3 separate regions of the Homo sapiens genome follow, and regions 2 and 3 are each linked to region 1. The links are contacts of gene promoters, found by promoter capture Hi-C in blood cells and fetal thymus (Javierre and others, 2016). All regions are on one chromosome and are shown on one strand. The core of a region is centred on a gene start or on the middle of the fragment in contact, and the rest is flanking DNA. Distances in the headings are between cores, read along the strand shown.

The links. The method cuts DNA at HindIII sites, captures the fragments that hold promoters and counts their contacts. A CHiCAGO score of 5 or more calls a contact.
Region 2: the fragment with the promoter of PIK3R5 here is called in contact with the fragment with the promoter of RNF222 in region 1 in 12 of 17 cell types (total CD4 T cells, naive CD4 T cells, naive B cells and 9 more); the score reaches 16.2 in total CD4 T cells.
Region 3: a fragment that was not itself captured here is called in contact with the fragment with the promoter of RNF222 in region 1 in 1 of 17 cell types (neutrophils); the score reaches 5.0 in neutrophils.

What each region holds. Positions count from the first base shown.
Region 1 is chr17:8,395,640-8,399,490 of GRCh38, reverse strand. RNF222 (ring finger protein 222) reads left to right here and starts at 1,664. Exons shown (of 3, transcript NM_001146684.3): 1 at 1,664-1,796. The HindIII fragment of the contact is 4,699 bases long and covers 1-3,851 here.
Region 2 is chr17:8,963,500-8,967,350 of GRCh38, reverse strand. It overlaps PIK3R5 (phosphoinositide-3-kinase regulatory subunit 5), which reads left to right and starts at 1,644. Exons shown (of 19, transcript NM_001142633.3): 1 at 1,644-1,755. PIK3R5-DT (PIK3R5 divergent transcript) reads right to left here and starts at 1,504. Exons shown (of 3, transcript NR_184080.1): 1 at 1,348-1,504; 2 at 1-584. RefSeq lists silencers at 1,231-1,330, 1,401-1,720. The HindIII fragment of the contact is 6,543 bases long and covers 1-3,696 here.
Region 3 is chr17:8,920,740-8,924,590 of GRCh38, reverse strand. The region is part of intron 1 of PIK3R5 (phosphoinositide-3-kinase regulatory subunit 5); the gene reads left to right. Among named protein-coding and RNA genes, the nearest start is that of PIK3R5, 43 kb to the left of the region's middle. The HindIII fragment of the contact is 1,510 bases long and covers 1,236-2,745 here.

The sequences.
Region 1 (3,851 bases), core at 415-2,914:
CCCCAGCTACTTGAGAGGCTGAGGCAGGAGAATCGCTTGAACCCAGGAAGTGGAGGTTGCAGTGAGCCGAGCTTGTGGCCACTGCACTCCAGCCTGGGTGACAGATCGAGACTCTGTCTCAGAAAAAAAAAAATCCCAGATATTGTACTGTATTGTACTGGACATATTTATACCAAAAAGCATTCGTTGTTTGTCTGAAATTCTAATTTACCTGGGCATACTGCATTTTCATTTGCTAATCTAGGACCACCTGGAACTCCCAGGGAAAGAACAAGAGAGACTGTGACGACGGCTTGCACTCACGGATCTCTGTCCATGGTGAAGTGGCCGAGTGCACTGGCCTGACTGTCCTCCCCACCAGCTTCAAGGTGTCCATTAAGCCAGGGCCATGACTGATCGGACAGAAGAGGGGTCATCCTGTGTCATCCTATGGGGTCACACACATGCTGGGCTGTGCCTTGGACCCAGTAACTTACTTTTTCAGAAGAAAACTGGTTTCTTGGGGACCTCCTGAGAGGACTGGGAGGGAATCCTCCAAAATGATTTCCAGTTCCCCGAACTTCATTCCTCCATTATTCTTGATGACTTTTTCTTTTTCTTTGAGACAGTCTCACTCTGTCATCCAGGCTGGAGTGCAGTGGTGCAATCTTGGCTCACTCACTGCAACCTCCACCTTCTGGATTCAAGCAATTCTTGTGCCTCAGCCTCCCGAGTAGCTGAGACTACAGGCTTGCACCACCTTGCCCAGCTAATTTTTGTATTTTTAGTAGCAACAGGGTTTCACCATGTTGGCAAGGCTGGTCTCGAACTCCTGGCCTCAAGCAGTCTGCCCGCCTCAACCTCCCAAAGTGCTGAGATTACAGGCATGAGCCACCATACCCAGTGGATGACTTTTTCTCTAATCACAAAAGAAACATACATTCAGGGTGAAAATGCAAACATCACAGAAATATAAAACTTAGAAAGTCTCTCCAGAGATAACTGCTATTAACAGTCTGATGTGTTTTCTTCCAGCTTTTCCTCTATGAATATGATCATGTATTATTATCTTCATAAATAGAATTGTATTACACAGGCTGTTCTGAAAGTTGCTTCCATTTATCATGATGCCGGGGACTTCTTTCCATATCTGTGTGCATTCCTGCTTCACTGGTCTTACTCGCCTCGTTCTTTATGCCAGTGGTGCTGGGTCTTTGGAGTTCTAAGCGCCTTTGGGTGTTCCATGAATGACAAATGCACACAGGCAGATCCCACAAATATATGACTCTGAGTGTCATAGACTTCCCGAGGCTGATCTACTACTGACCCCTTCACCCTGTGCATGGTGTGAGGATAGGGGTGTGGGGGGAAGATGGGGATCACAGAAATGGGTCCAGGAGGGTGGGAAGGACAGTGTGGGTGACTTTCCTATTGATAGGGAGACCCATGCCTGGGGAGCCTCAGTCAAAGGGGTCCTGGGTCACTGCCTCCACTGTGAGACCCTCTGACTCTCCTGAGCACCCACCCCTGGGCTCCTCCTCAAGCTGGGGGTTCCTCTCCTGGCATCCTCAGCAAGATCACCTGACTCCAGCAGCTGCCAACCCCCTGGGCAACGCCAAAGCCTCCTGGCCTCAAACGGGTTGGGCGACATTCACTTCCTCGCGCTGTCCTCCCGACCTGCTCTGTCATTAGGAATTGCCTCGGCGGTGGCGGTCACACTAACAGCAACAGGAGGAGATCGTGCTGCTGCTCAGCACCTCGGGGTGGCTCAGATCTGCTGGAGGCCCCAGGAGGGAAGGTGGATGCTGCTCTCTCCGGTCCCAGCTAAAGTGAGTCTAGGGGCCTGGATGGGCGTGGGGAAGGAGCTTGGCAATGTTGGAAGGTTGCCAACATTGGAAGGATGCAGGAGAATGAGAGAGAGAGAAATTGAGAGAGAGAGAGAAAGAGATACCTGTGGGTGAGCAACTAGTCACAGCTAAAGCTATAGGACCTTGCACTGGGGCTCCAGGAGGGAATCCCAGGTGCCTGGAAGTATCATTCTGTCCCACTGGCTCCTGTGCTGAGGTGGGGATGGGGGGTGTTTTCTCTGGGGTGGGGACACCTGCCCCCACACTCTGTTCCGGAGATGGGCTACTGCTGTGGGGGAGGCTCAGTACTGGGGCTTCCCAAGGTCAGCTCCCTTGGGCCAGCCATTGCCTTCCCCCTGCCTCCCAGGTGGCCAGAGGGGCATCCTTGTTTAGGGTCACTCTAAACCTAAAGAGGAAGGAACTTTGGGTAGTCACTTTTCTAACAGTGCTATTTCTTCTATTCCTTTGACCAAAGTCTGAAGACAAAGTCTTAAGCTCTGAGCCTCAGGTCCCTTATCTGTAAAATGAAGATAATCCCTACGCCCCAGCCTTGTTGTCAGGATCAGAAGAGGAAGGGATGCAAAATGCCAAGCATATAATTAGGATTCAATAAATGGTCGCTGTTGTAAATAATAATAATTATTTATTATTAGCTCAATACTGGTCCCACTTCACCTAGGAATACTTTCCAGCCCTCCTCTCCCCTCAGTTTCCTAAGGCACCAACAGGGATGCTTTGGCACTTACTGCATTCTTCTTCAACTCGTTTGTGCTCAAACTAGAGTATGTTCCTTGCATTTCTTCTGTTGCCCTCTCCCTCACCCCAGCATCCAAACAGAATCATACCATAAGAGGAACTCAAGGATGGGGAATGGAATGGGATTCAGAAAGCGAGAGAGGCAGAGGGAGGGGTCAGGGAAAGACTGAGAAAGGGAGGCAAGAAGGTGGGGAAGGAGGTAGCATCGTCCAGGTGTTGACGGCGTGGCTCTCCGGAAGCACGGGACGGGGGAAGGATTGCCCAGAGAGGCCATCGTTGGAAGCGGGAAGGACTGTCCAGAGAGGCCATCATTGGAAGGGGGAAGGATTGTCCGGAGAGGCCATCGTTGTAAGAGGGAAGGATTGCCCAGAGAGGCCATTGTTGGAAGGGAGAAGGATTGCCCAGAGAGGCCATCATTGGGGCCTCGGATGTCTTCTGCACTCCCTGGGTCCTTTTTACTTTTCCTCTAACTCGGATGAAAAGTAGAGGCTCTCCTTCTCCTTCCCTGCTCGTCTCAAGGAGGACGGTGCTTTCTAACTTGGCTAATACCTACTCACCCAATCTATCAGCTGATTCTAACAATGTTCTACCATCTACGGAATCTTCTCTGTCTCGGTTAACTCCCTCTCCGTCACCTTCACCGGTCACCTCAGGTGACTCACTTCCCTCTCTCTAGACATGGATCTGCTCATCTCTGAAACTAGGAGCTTCAACTAAGTGATCTCTAAAGTCCTTTTTCCCTCTAGTATTCCTTATTTGCTCTTCTTGTCAGCCTTGGTCTCTACTTCTCAGTTATCCAAACAACTTAAACCATTGATCATCAATACTCCTTTCAAAAAAATATCTTTTTCAAGAAAACTTATAAATGTCCACTAGGCTCTAAAGTTTTATAAGAACTTCCTTGGCCACTACTTATCCCCAATATGTAAGTCAGTACCTAGCACATAGCAGGTGCTCAATAAATATGTGTCGAATAATTAGACAGATGGATGGATGGATAGAAGGATGGAACTCTTGCCATCATACACTCTGGGGAGTTATGAAATGCAGGGAAACATATTAATAGTTGATTGGCTTAAGAAAATCATGCCCATCCTGATTATAATGGCTGTTTGGTATAAACATTTGCAAATGTGTTATGAAATAACTACCAAGAAAGATTGGAATAACCATTTAAATTATTATCCATTGCCCATCACTTATCTTATCCATTGTCATCTTGTTCCGTTATTCTAATTTGAGGTGAGCTGCCCTCTGTCAAGTGGGTGC
Region 2 (3,851 bases), core at 395-2,894, 570 kb before region 1:
ACAGGGGAGACAGAAGACTGGAATCCTTATCAAGTCCTCTCTCAGCCCTTGGTGGCTCTGGTTCCTTCTCTGTGAAAGGGTGACGTGTGGGGAAGGGGTTGGGGATGAGGTAGGAGAGGGGGTCTGAGTTCCTTCCCACGTCTAACGATGGCTGGAACCAGGCCTCTGTGTTCAACCAAGGGTACTTTCTGTTTCTGTCCATTTGGGGAAGTTGCTTTTTCTTGGTATTTCGGGAGTCAGGAAAAGAAAAGTCATTGGTGTTCATATCTCTCAAAGCCTCAGGTAGGGCTGCGGCTTTTGACCAACAATAACGTATGACCATGACCTTGTGGCCGAGTTTGCACGCCTCTAACAGATATTATGACACAGTTCCATTCAATAGTGGAAGTGGAGATTTCAGCGTTGCCCTTTGTTAACCCACAAATGAAGTGCTACTCTTCCATTGTGAGGGCTGTCGGAGCAGTAGCCAACCTTCTTATCCCCATTTTTTAAACGAGGGAAAGGAGGCATAGGAAGCGCAGTGTCTTGTGGGATTCCCTGGGGAGTCCTTCCAACTCTTGGTAGAGCATCATCTGCAACGTCGTCTGGGGGAGAAAAGGGGGAGGCAAGAAGAGGGCCTTGACCCTGGAGGCAGGAACTCCCGCACACCCTCACTCCCTTCCCCAGGGGCTGGGGAAACCACTCAGGTGACAGTAGCCTTGGTGCCGGCCAGGGAGGGCGGGAAGTCCAGCCAGAGGCTGGAACAGCAGTGCTGAACGCCGGGACTGGCTGGTATTTCTATGAAGGTTCCTGCAGAAGGATGCGGGTCAAGGTGCCCGTCTGCACAGCAGTAGTGCAGGCATTTTAAGGGTTAAGGGCACCCAAAGAAAATAGAAGTAGGGGCCGGGCGCAGTGGCTCACGCCTGTAATCCCAGCACTTTGGGAAGCCGAGGCGGGCGGATCACGAGGTCAAGAGATCGAGACCATCCTGGCCAACATGGTGAAACCCCGTCTCTAGTAAAAATACAAAAAATTGGGCGTGGTGGCGCGCGCCTGTAGTCCCAGCTACCCGGGAGGCTGAGGCAGGAGAATCGCTTGAACCCGGGAGGCGGAGGTTGTGGGGAGTCAAGATCGTGCCACTGCACTCCAGCCTGGCGACAGAGCGAGACTCCATCTCAAAAAAAAAAAAAAAAAAAAGAAAGAAAATAGAAGTAGGAAGAGGAAGTGGGTCGCAGTGAGAGAAGGAAGCAGCTCGTCGGAGCTTCCTCTTTCTCGTCTTTCCCCTAAGCCCCTACCCCAGACCTGCCCCCCTGCTCCGCCCAGCCCTCCTGCGGGGCCAAAGCCGCGCTTCCGACGCGGGGGCCTAACCTCCCCTTACTCCTTGGGGGTCGCTGGTGCTCCGCGCTGGTGCCCCTCGGGCCACTGCCATGGACCGGCCAGGGTCTGCTTCTTCCGAGGGCTGGCGGGTCAGAGCCGGGGCTGCTTCTCAGACGCCTTGCGGCCTCGGGGGCGTGACCCAGAGGATGTGGGGCCGGGCGCGCACCTGGCTGACGCTGCCGGGCCGCCAGGTGGCTGGAGAGGCCGGCTCCGCGGTCAGCCCCGCCCCATTAGGCCCCGCCCCCTGACAGGCTCCGCCCCGCCCGCCGGAGGAGCCCAGGCTGGGCAGATGCTGCGGCTCGCCGCGCGGCTCCAGCTGGGGCGCGGTGGTCCCGACGGTCACCCGAATCGCAGGGAGTCGCCGCTGGAGAGGGGCTCGGCGCCCGGCGGGGACTGCAGGTGTGTGACTGGGCGGCCAGGGCGGATGCGGAGGGCACGCATGGGAGCTCCAGGCAGAGCTGGAGCAAGCTGGGGACCGTCGGGGAGAGTGGGCTCCGCGAGCAGCCGCCGCAGCCCGAGGGCTGGACAGATCCTGCTATCTTCCGGCCCCGTGGACCTGGCCCACCGCGGGGGCAGCGGGTCTGCAAACCTGCGCTCCAGATAACCCCAGAGACTTAAGGGGCGTCGCGGGGACCACTTATCGTTATCCGGGTAACCTCTGCTGGGCGGCTCTGCGCAGCTGTGTCCTCAGCCTCCTGCCTCTGACACAGGACGCCCTGTGTCGTAGGGTCAGGTCCCCTGCCCGCTCCAGCGGGGAACTGTCCGTGAGCGTGGGCATCAGGGCTCTTGTGCCGTCAGAACCTGGGAGTCATGGAAGTGCCCGCGTAAGGCGCCCTCCGTCGAGCCTCACTCAGCCTGCTAGTTAGCCAGCCTTGGGCCCAGACGCGGCTGCTGTCCTAGAGAACTGCACGCTTTCTGCTCTCAGAGGATCTGTGTTTACACACTGGACATCCCCGCGTGACTCGTGTGTGTGTGTGTGTGTGTGTGTGTGTGGGCATGCGCATGTGCGCGTGCTGGCCCATCCCGGCCTGGGGTAAATACACAAAAAGTTCAGGTCAGTAGGAGGAAGGAGATTGTTCAGAAGGAAAAGGAAGGCGAGGTTAAAGCAGCAGGATGTGGTATAAAGCGAGTTAACAAGACTCGGAGTAGAGAGGAGGGGTGGGTTTAGGCAGAATAAGGGCTAAAAGTAGGCCAAGCCTGCCTCCAAGGTCCTCTCTGGACTGACACCCTCGTTTTCCTTCTGTGTCTTCTCATCCACCCCACACTTTCCTTCCTGCCCTCAGGACCACCTGTAAGGCACTGGCTCCCAGAGCTGACTGCAGGTAGGGCTCTCTTGGAGCCAACCCTACAACGTGGCTTTCCAGGGATGGGATCTGGAATCTGTAGTTTTCAAAACTTTGAATGAGCTCCTTAAGTGATGATGCTGAAGCCGTTGCTTGGGAACCATGCATGATGTGGAAAAGAGACCCAAGTTCCAACCGGATCCAGCTGTGTGACCTGCAGCATCACACTGTCCCCCAACCCAGCCTCAGTCTCCTGATTCATAAAATGGGCTGTCATACTGACCCATAGAGCTGTGTGGAATTATTATTATTATTATTATTGAGACAGGGTCTTGCTCTGTCACTCAGGCTGGAGTGCAGTGGCGTGATCATGGCTCACTGCAGCCTTAAATTCCCAGGCTCAAGCAATCCTCCGCCTCCGCCTCCCAAGTAGCTGGGATTACAGGTCAGCACCACGGCGCCCAGCTAATTTTTGTATTTTTTGTAGAGGCAGGGTTTTGCCATGTTGCCCAGGTTGGTCCCAAATTCCTTGAGCTCAAGCGATCCGTCTACCTTGGCCTTCCAAAGTGCTGGGATTATAGACATGAGCCACTGTGCCTGGCCCAGTGTGGAAAATTAAGTGAGGCATGTATGATGAGAACGGCTGCACGTGGGAGATGCTCCGTGGATGTTTGTAGAACGCTGGCTTCCGTGTTTCCTCGTTGTGGCTGTGGTGGTGTGGGTCTTTGCCTGTGGACCCGTGGAAGACAAAGAAGACAGTTTTGGATGGTCAAGCTACTTTCTTGCTTCAGGGCTCCCTCCCCTGCTTTTTGAAGCCTCACAAACCAGGACTGTGAGGGCAGGAAGGCTTGGGGTCTTTGTGTGCTGAGCCTCATTAGGGTTTTAAGAACCTCCCTCCTTTCATCTCTAGCTTACGAGAGGGATGATTCATTATCTTCCCTCCTCAGGCTGCAGTAGAAGCAGACAGTCTCTGCCTCCCTGCTTGCCTTTCCTCCCTCCCATTCACTGTTGATTATTGCCCTCAAGAATAACAGGTTGCCCAGCTACTCGAGAAGCTTAAGTGGGAGGATTGCTTGACCCCAGGAGTTCGAGGCTGCAGTGAGCTATGATCGCTTCACTGCGCTATAGCCTGGCAGACACAGAGAGACCCTATCTCAAGCAAACAGACAAACAAAAAAAAAAAAAGAAGAAGAAGAAGAAGAATAGGTTGGA
Region 3 (3,851 bases), core at 741-3,240, 520 kb before region 1:
AATGGTTTATCACTCTGGAAGAGAAGAAAAGCTGTGCAAGGGAAAAGATAATGGATTGGACCAGTCTACCCCAAACTTATTCTGATAGTAAAGCATCTAGAAGTCACAGTGCTCTGGAAGGAGAAAAATCTTCCTTGCCCAAAACTATGAAATATTCATATCTGTCTTACAAACTAGAAATGATTCTACCTGTAGAAAGTGAGCAGCCTGTGTCAGGCTGCAGGTGGCTCACGCCTGTAATCCCAGCACTTTGGGAGGCTGAAGCCAGCAGATTGCTTGAGCTCAGGAGTTCAAGATCAGCCTGGCAACATGGTGAAACCCCACCTCTACAAAAAAAAAAAAAAATTAGCCAGGCATTGTGACATGTGCCTGTAGTTCCAGCTACTTGAGAGGCTGAGGCAGGAGGATCGCTTGAGCCCAGGAGGTCAAGGCTGCAGTGAGGTATGATCACACCACTGCACTCCAGCCTGGGAGGCAGAGCAAGACCCTGTCTTGAAAAGGAAAGGGAAGGGAAGGGGAAGGGAGGGGAGGGGGGGAGGGGAGGGGAGGGAAGGGAAGGGAAGGCTGCAATGTCACAACTGCAATCTTTTTCCACACCCAGAAGGCTGCAGTGAGGTATGATCACACCACTGCGCTCTGGCCTGGGAGGCAGAGCAAGACCCTGTCTTGAAAAGGGAAGGGAAGGGGAGGGGAGGGGAGGGGAGGGGAGGGGAAGGGAAGGGAAGGGTGCAATGTCACAACTGCAATCTTTTTCCACATCCAGAAAAACCAGAAAGCTGCCAATATATGTGTAATTGGCCTTTCTTGAGTTTTTACATTTACATTCATTTGCTGCTTTATTCTCCTGTGCACATTGTCTAACCATTAAGATGGGCTCCATATTTAAAGGTGGTAGGATTAAACAGTCTCCCGTGTAAGTGCCCAAGGTTTAGCCCAGGTGCCCAAAGAATTCGGTTGCTGCCTGGAGCTTATTGCTTGTTTTATTGTTATAGTCTTCCTCTGGTTTCCCAGCTTGGCAGTAATTTCAGTTTGCCCACCCCTGGCTCCAGTATAGCTGCTCTTACTTGCATGGGGAAGCTAAATTGCCTACAGCATACTTCATTTACCAGCTGAGAGAATACTCTGTACCGCAGTCTCCTCATCTGTAAAATGGGGGTAAGGAGTGTCTACCTCACATGGATTTAATGACTTAATTCATAGAAACACCTAGAACGGTGCCTGCCACATAGTAAGCTTTCAATTCCTATTAGCTGCTATTATTAAAATTATTATATGAAAAGGTGACATTGTACATCCTGTTGTCTTTTCGGTACTGTACCTGGGTAGAGTGGACCAGAGAGACCTTAGTTCGAATCCTCTCTGTGCTATCCGTATGTCCTTGGGAAAGTCTTTTAGCCAACAGGAGCTGAACTTCCTCATCTCTGCAAGTTCAGAGTGTCCTAGAGTGGCTCAAAATAAATGAGATCATGTGCTTCAAGCCCTAAGCATGGTATCTGGCCCAGGGTCAGTGCTGTGTACACGTTAGCATCTTTCTCCTTCCCCTCCTTCATCCTCATCCCATTTCTTCTTGGTCTTGACCACAACTGTGGTCTTCCCAGGCATTCCTGTGCCCCTTCCTTGGTAAAGAAGGGCTTGAGCAAAGATGGGGGGAAGTGGGCAGTCTTGCCTCTGCTTCTTCAGTGTTTCTTTCTTTTGGTACATCTCTACTTCATCTTCTGCCTTCCCTGGACCTCCACACCATGTCCACCTACCTTTTCACATTTCCTCCCTCTCCTGGCCCCAGAGTCCTTCTCCTGCCCACTAGCTACCGTCACTGCTGTAACAGACTCATCTGGTGGCTAAATCATCCTCCAAGAATCTTACATCTTGAAAAATAAGCTAGGACAGAGGAAGTGAACAGCCCTAACCCAAGGAGAATGAATCACCAACAATGGAAACTCAGCCAATTTTTATGCAAGACGTCTTCCCTGGAAGCCTCAAATTACAACACTGAGACGAAACAGTACACTCAGCCCTTTAAGTGTCTAGAAACCAGTAGAAATGACTTCCTATGAACACGACATAGGAAAGAACATGGGCTTTGAGAGTCACGCCAACTTTGCACAGACTTCAAGCTCGGGCCATAGGAATTGTGACCATAGGAACTTGAGTGAATAAATGGCTTACCCTCCCTGAGCTGCAGGAAATGTGAATAATTATGATAATGTCACAGGGTGATTATGATTATCAAACTAAGTAATCAATGTCTTGGGGATTAACTGAATGTTAATTCCCAAGACAATGGGGATTGATAATTTGATAATCAATTTGATAATCAATTATGATTATCAAACTAAGTGAAAGCGCCCAACATAGTACCTGACACAGATCAGCCACTCAATAATTACCTTCCTCCTTTTCTTCCTCCCTCCCTCCCTCCTTCTCTCCCACCCTCCCACCTTCCCTCCTTCCCTCCTTCTTTCCTATTCTCCAGGCTGAAACTCATGGAGAATGAACAAATCGGGTGGTTTGTTTTTGTTGTTGAGTTATACAGGAGTTCTTTATATATTCAAGATGGTAGCCCTTAATCAGATATACGATTTGCAAATATTTTCTTCCATAACATGGCTTGCCTTTTCACTCTGTTGATTGTATCCTTTAATGCACAGAGTTTTAAATTTTGATATTTAACTATTTTTTCTTTTGTTGCCTGTGCTTTTTGTGTTATATCCAAGAAATCTTTGACAAATCCAATGTGATGAAGCTTCCCCCAATTTTTCTTCTAAGAGTTTTATAGTTTTAGCACTTTACATTTAGATCTTTGATCCTTTTTGAATTAATTTTTTATGGTATTGAATCTTCCTAACACCAGAATATGTATTTCCATTTACTTTTGCTTTTTCGTGTCCCTCAAACATTTTCTTTATAAAAATATTGCATATTTTTAAAGTTTTTAAAAAAATTTGTATTACTTTTGTTGCTGTTAGAAGTGGAATCTTGTTTCCCCAACATAATTTATTTGCATAGTTAGATAATATTGATTTCTATATTAATTTGTGCCTAACCACTTTACCTAACTCTGTTCTTTGGTATGACCATTTTTCAGTTGATTTTCTTGGGTTTCTATGAACATTTCGAGGGTGAAAAATTATGAATTATGCCAATTCTATAATTGGCAAAGCTATAATTCATGAGCCAGAATGAATGACATATGACATGTAAAGTCTCAGAAAGTACCTCACCCACATATCTGTCCTGAAACTACTCGAAATACTTGAGTGAGCAAGACATGAACCAAAATAAAGGACTTATAAGTAGGAATGGTAGGGTACAAAACAAAACAGTGAGTAATAAAATAAATGAAACTTAAAGCCACTGTCCAAAAATACTGCTGTTATCACAGTTATTACATTTAATGTAAATGTCAAAAACATTGAAAGAACTATGAAGTAGTATAAAATATTTAATACAGGCCGGGTGCAGTGGCTCATGCCTGTAATCCCAGCACTTTGGGAGGCTGAGGCGGGTGGATCACCTGAGGTCAGGAGTTTGAGACCAACCTGACCAACATGGTGAAACCCGTCTCTACTAAAAGTACAAAAATTAGCCAGCCGTGGTGATGCATGCCTGTAATCCCAGCTACTCAGGAGGCTGAGGCAGGAGGATAGCTTGAACCTGGGAGGCAGAGGTTGCAGTGAGCCAAGATTGCGCCATTGCACTCCAGCCTGGGCAACTAGAGCGAAACTCCATCTCAAAAAAAAAAAAAAGAAAAAGAAAAAAGAAAAAAAAATACTTAATATACATATGGACCTGTATTTTAAAAGAAAACAAGTTACGTTAAAAGAAGGGCTAAAATTACAGAAGTAATTGTA